2 separate regions of the Homo sapiens genome follow, and region 1 is linked to region 2. The links are contacts of gene promoters, found by promoter capture Hi-C in human tissues and cell types (Jung and others, 2019). All regions are on one chromosome and are shown on one strand. The core of a region is centred on a gene start or on the middle of the fragment in contact, and the rest is flanking DNA. Distances in the headings are between cores, read along the strand shown.

The links. Contacts are between HindIII fragments. The study calls those that stand out against the background at their distance.
Region 1: a contact is called between a fragment that was not itself captured here and the fragment with the promoter of TAX1BP3 in region 2, in 1 of the 25 tissues and cell types used here (dorsolateral prefrontal cortex).

What each region holds. Positions count from the first base shown.
Region 1 is chr17:2,404,845-2,407,544 of GRCh38, forward strand. LOC284009 (a long non-coding RNA gene) reads right to left here. Exons shown (of 3, transcript NR_028335.1): 3 at 2,137-2,386. Among named protein-coding and RNA genes, the nearest start is that of MNT, 5.1 kb to the left of the region's middle. The HindIII fragment of the contact is 5,447 bases long and covers 1-2,700 here.
Region 2 is chr17:3,667,145-3,669,844 of GRCh38, forward strand. TAX1BP3 (Tax1 binding protein 3) reads right to left here and starts at 1,434. Exons shown (of 4, transcript NM_014604.4): 1 at 1,344-1,434. The coding sequence starts at 1,382. EMC6 (ER membrane protein complex subunit 6) reads left to right here and starts at 1,668. Exons shown (of 2, transcript NM_031298.4): 1 at 1,668-1,755; 2 at 1,954-2,521. The coding sequence starts at 2,003. The coding sequence ends at 2,335. P2RX5-TAX1BP3 (P2RX5-TAX1BP3 readthrough (NMD candidate)) reads right to left here. Exons shown (of 15, transcript NR_037928.1): 12 at 1,914-2,700. RefSeq lists enhancers at 228-759, 760-1,290, 1,823-2,353, 2,354-2,700 and a silencer at 1,382-1,721. The HindIII fragment of the contact is 19,427 bases long and covers 1-2,700 here.

The sequences.
Region 1 (2,700 bases), core at 166-2,665, 1.3 Mb before region 2:
CTGGGATTACAAGCACGCACCACCACGCCCGGCTAATTTTTGTATTTTTAGTAGAGACGGGGTTTCACCATGTTGGCCAGGCTGGTCTCAAACTCCTGACCTCAAGTGATCTGCCTGTCTTGGCCTCCCAAAGGGCTGGGATGACAGGCGTGAGCCACCGCGCCCGGCTGTTCCTTAAGTTTCTTCATGGCTTCTGGGTGCTTAGTACCTTGGAGCAGGAGAAAAGCTGGGCTGTCCATCATTGTGAGTTTCTCACGAGAGGGTTTCCGTTTTCAGTCTTCCTCCCCGAGTCTTGTGCACCCCACCTCCCAGTTCAAATTCCATTATGTCCTCCAATTTTTTAATCTTTTATTCTTTTTTTCACCAACCACAATAAGAAGCACCAATTCCCCAATTTTTTAATATGCTGAGCCAGAGACATCCCCTTAGTGGAACTGTCTTCCTATCCCCCACCACTCACCTAACAAAGTATCAACTCCAAGAGCTATGAAAATCAGTGCCCTGACTCCTACAAAGCCTGAGTCATGAGATGGGGGAAAGGGCGTGAAGCCGAAAGTACAGATGTTCACAGGAAATCCCAACCCTTCAAGCCTGATGTCTCATCTTTTGCAAGCAGCTAAGGAGCTTTTCACATACCATCATTAAAACAAGACCCATGGGAGGAAGCTGGCTGCAGGATGAAGAGGAAAAAACAGAAGACTAGTACACTCAAGACATACCAGAGAAGATCCATTTCATAAATATTTATTGTGTGCCTGAGGTGCCAAGCACTAGGCTAGGTATGCTGTGGCCAAGGCCAGGGGACCTCTGGTAAGCCAGAGCGGGGCAAAAGCAAACAGAGCGGAACTCCACTCCACTGTGATAACTTGCAAAAGATTAGTTCTGCTGTTCGCCACCGTGCTGGATGCAGCACCAGAGACAGGACGACACGAGGACCCAGAGGGCGCCGCCATGCTCATTTCAGAAGGTGCAGCCTCCGTGTCCGTGGGTCCGCACCCATGGAGGCAACTAACCGTGGATCAAAAATATTCAGGAAAAAAAAATGGAAAATATACAAGAAAAAATAATACAAATTTAAAAACCAACACAGCACAAGAACTATTTACACAGCATTTACATGGTATGAGGTATTTGAGTAGCGCAGAGATGAGTTAAAGGATACCTGAGGATGTGCATAGGTTACATGTAAGGGATTTGAGCATCATCCATGGACAGGTATTCAGGGAGGCTCCAGGAACCAATCCCCATTGGACAGTGAGAAGCAACTGTAATTCCGTTTTTCTATGTAGAGATAAAAACAAATTCAGTGGATTTAAGGCTGGGCCAGTCAACTGAGCCTGATTCCCCCAGTCTGAATGATGAGTGGGACTCTGAATTCCTTTGACAGAGGTGGACCCATTCAATCATCAGTGAAATGGGGTCCCCACAGCCAAAAGTTTCCACAGGACTCTTTACCTCCTTTCCCCACCCCAAGTGAGTTGTCAGAGGACCTCTCCTGAACTCACAGAACAGGTCCAATCAAGTTCCACCTCCCCATTCATGTCCTTTCCAGAAGCTGGGCGCGGTGGCTCACGCCCTAAGTTCCAGCTACGTGGGAGGCTGAGACAGGAGAATCGCCTGAGCCCAGGATTTCAAGGCCAGCCTGGGCAACATAGCAAGATACTGTCTCAAAAAAAAAAAAAAAAAAATTGCAGCCTCACATGATGTCATAGCTGGAAGAGCTGGGATCATGGGGTCTGACCTCCCAAGAGAAGGTGTATCCAAGGTCACAAAGCTGCCAAGCATCAGCTAGGTTGAGAAGTGGCCTGGTCCTCCTCTTTGGCTGGCTGGGCCAGGCCTGGGGAAGTGCTATCAGTGTGGGGTGTTGAGTCCCTGAAAGCCTCCCAGAAGTGGGTGAAGATGGAGAGGGAACTCCACCCCTCCTCGTTAAAGACAGGAATAATCATTCACTTTGCTTAGTGGTCCCCAATAAACAAGCTTAGCAGATAAGCGGGAAGACAGGGAAAGGGAATCAGACTTGGGATCCAGGAGCTCGCAGGACCCTGTTCTGCCCCAGGCCACTCAGGAATGGAGAGCTGCTAGCTGGACCTGGGTAGGTCACCATTACTCACTGGGGCTTTTGTCTGGCATGAAAGGTGACGGGAGAAAGGGGCAGATTTTTATCCAGGCAGCCACCGTGGGTGTGGACACTGAGTAATAAGGAAAGAAATGCAGTTCAGAAGCAAAGAGGGAGGAGCCAGGTCCTCTGAGCTCTTCTGAGAAACCAGAGCCCAGTCGAGCTCTGCAGCTAGAGTGGCAGCTGCGGATGACAGTGGGTCAGAAGCTTGGTGGGAGGAGGCTGACCCAGCGGAAAGGCACAGGAGACGGATGACGATGTCAGGGATTCCTTTAAAGGAAAAAAGAGGTGGCTTTATGACAGCAAAACTAATTCAGGTCAAGGGAGTGGGACTGGGCAGAAGTTATGAGTAAAGCCGGGTGGAGTCTTGCCATGGGAGTCAAGAGTCCGCTGGATCACGCAGGGGTGGGGACATGGTGATAGGGAAGAAACCTCCCAGGACCGACGGGCTGCAATGTGATCAGTGCCCCACACAAAGGACTAAGGTCTATATCCCAGCAGCCCCAGTTCACACCCAAATGCAAGGCTGTAGCATCAAGTCTTGAAAGCCCAAGAGATCAGCAGCCTATGCCAGGAATGAGGCT
Region 2 (2,700 bases), core at 184-2,683:
ACAAGCCTGGCCAACATGGTGAAACCCCGTTCTACTAAAAATACAAAAATTAGCTGGGCATGCTGGTGCATGCCTGTAATCCCAGCTACTCGGGAGGCTGAGGCAGGAGAATCGCTTGAACCCAGGAGGCGGAGGTTGCAATGAACCGAGATCGCGCCACTGTACTCCAGCCTGGGCGACAGAGCAAGACTGTCTCAAAAAAAAAAAAAAAAAAAAAGTCAAGCTGGTGCAGGGAGGGTGAAGCTTAGGACAGCTGTCAGCTGGTCCAGCAATGTTTCCTCCTGGCCCAGGCCTGAGCCAGTGCTCTAAGCTCAGCCTCACTTGTCGCCTTTATCAGTGGCTTCTCTGCCTCCACCCACCTGATTGCTGGAGCTTCTCCAGCACACCCAACTGAGATAACACACCCAGTCCCTATGGCTCCAGGGCGGGGACTTTCGCTTGACCTACTGCCCACCGGGCAGGCATTTCTTCTCATTCTCTGAACGCTGTCGGGAGGTAGGCAGGAGACCTGAGTCTTTCCTGAGGTGGTCTTTTCTGGCTGAGCACTTCTCTCTGGGACTCCCCACCTCTGTCATAGGGTTGTGTCCCTCTGTGACACCGGCGTCTGAGTCTAACGTCCCAGCCTTCCTTCCTCCCTCTGCCTAGTCTAATAGCACCCAGCACCTAAAACAAGCCAGAGGGCGGCCAGGGGCCTAGGCTAGCCCCCGGAGGGTCTACTCAGGACTCAAGTGCCAGGAGGGAGGCCTGGACTTTTTTGCCTTAAGGGCTGGAGACCCAGGAAAAGTTCGAAGAGGAAACGCTCATCGCAGCTATACGAGCGTCCACCCTGGACCAGGCGGCGAGTGGGTTGGAGGAGCAAGGCTGGACAGGAAGGGGGCAGGGGCTGCCACGGCAGGCTCGGGAGAGCCCCACCCCCAGATCTCCCTCCGGGCGGCGGCGCAGGCTGCAGCGGAGGAAGCATTTCCTCATTCCAGAGGCTGCGACTCATGGACGTCGGGATCGGCGCCCGCCCCCAGCAGCTCCCCGTCTGGGGACACGGAGGCCCGGGAAGGGGGCGCTTTTCCAGGCTCCTGCAGCCAGGCCTTTCCCCGTGGCCCTCCCCGCCCTGCGCACGCAGTCTGGGCTCTGTCCAGGGTCTCGGGAGGCTCTCGGGTCCCGGCCATCCCTGTTTCGTGGCTGGGGGAACTGCGGCCCGCTCCGGCAAAGCGGGGACCCGAGCCCTTGCCGCCGGTTCGCAGGAGCCCCGGGTTCGATGCTCTGTCAACCTGCTTGGGGTGTCCGTTTCCCGCTCTGCGAGGTGGGGTCAGGCCAAGACGAGGAGGAGCCCGCGCAAGCGCACTCACCACCACGGCGGTGACCGGCTGGCCCGGGATGTAGGACATCTCGACCCTGCTCTGGTCGCCCAGCGCCGCTCCGAGAAGCCGGCAGCAGAGTACCCGCGGTCGCGCCCTCGCTGCTTAACAAAGGCCGCCCCGCTCGGCCCGCCCCCTCATGAATAGTTAACAAACCTCCAGCCAATCACTGGCCGGAGCGCCACTCCGCTTTCGGAAGTCCCTGCGCGTGCGCAGAAAAGCGGGCAGAGGGCGGAGCGTGTCCGGGGCGCCCACGGCGCAGGCGCGGAGGGCGGGGCGGGATCTGGGCGCGTGCGCAGCCCGAGACCTCCCGGCAGTCTTCCGAGCAAGATGGCGCCGCGGGCATTTCTTCCACTGCCCGTCTGAGGGAACGCTAAGTAGTGTGTCCGGCGCCGTGTTCCAGGTAACTGGGCCACCGTGGCCGGGGAACGCAGACGCGCCACCACCTCCCGGCCGGCCCGGACCCTCAATCTCCTCGGCGTCTTTGGAAGATCCGAGGCCCAGGACTGGTGCCAGGTCTCGGAAGCTCCAGGGGGAGGGGGCGGCGTGAACCCAACTCACCGAGCTCCGGGCGCCACTTGTAACTTGGTTTTCTCCGCAGCTCCGCGTTGTTCCGCGAGAAAGCGAGAGGCCGAGCCCGGGCTGGTGCGATGGCCGCGGTGGTGGCCAAGCGGGAAGGGCCGCCGTTCATCAGCGAGGCGGCCGTGCGGGGCAACGCCGCCGTCCTGGATTATTGCCGGACCTCGGTGTCAGCGCTGTCGGGGGCCACGGCCGGCATCCTCGGCCTCACCGGCCTCTACGGCTTCATCTTCTACCTGCTCGCCTCCGTCCTGCTCTCCCTGCTCCTCATTCTCAAGGCGGGAAGGAGGTGGAACAAATATTTCAAATCACGGAGACCTCTCTTTACAGGAGGCCTCATCGGGGGCCTCTTCACCTACGTCCTGTTCTGGACGTTCCTCTACGGCATGGTGCACGTCTACTGAAATGGGGGCCCGGGGGACTTTTTTAAAAAACCAGATCGGGAGGACTGTGGCCAGCAATTAACACCATGTAGACTTCCTTAGTTCTTAAGTGGTTGAATTCGCTGCTTGTTCTGTAACGTTATAAATAATTTATATCTGAAGACGGAGAGCCTGTAATATTCTTCAGATTAAATGAAGCGTGAGACACTTTGTGGAGTTCTTTCCTGCTGTAACGCTTAGGCTGCCACTGATGCAAAATCGCCGAGATTTGACTCCTGGAGAGCAAGGAATGGGCCATAGCCTTGTGTTAAGTCCTTGTATTTACACATAGGCCATTCAGAAACGGGCCCTAAGGGCCTACATAAGGAAAGAACTTATTAACATCC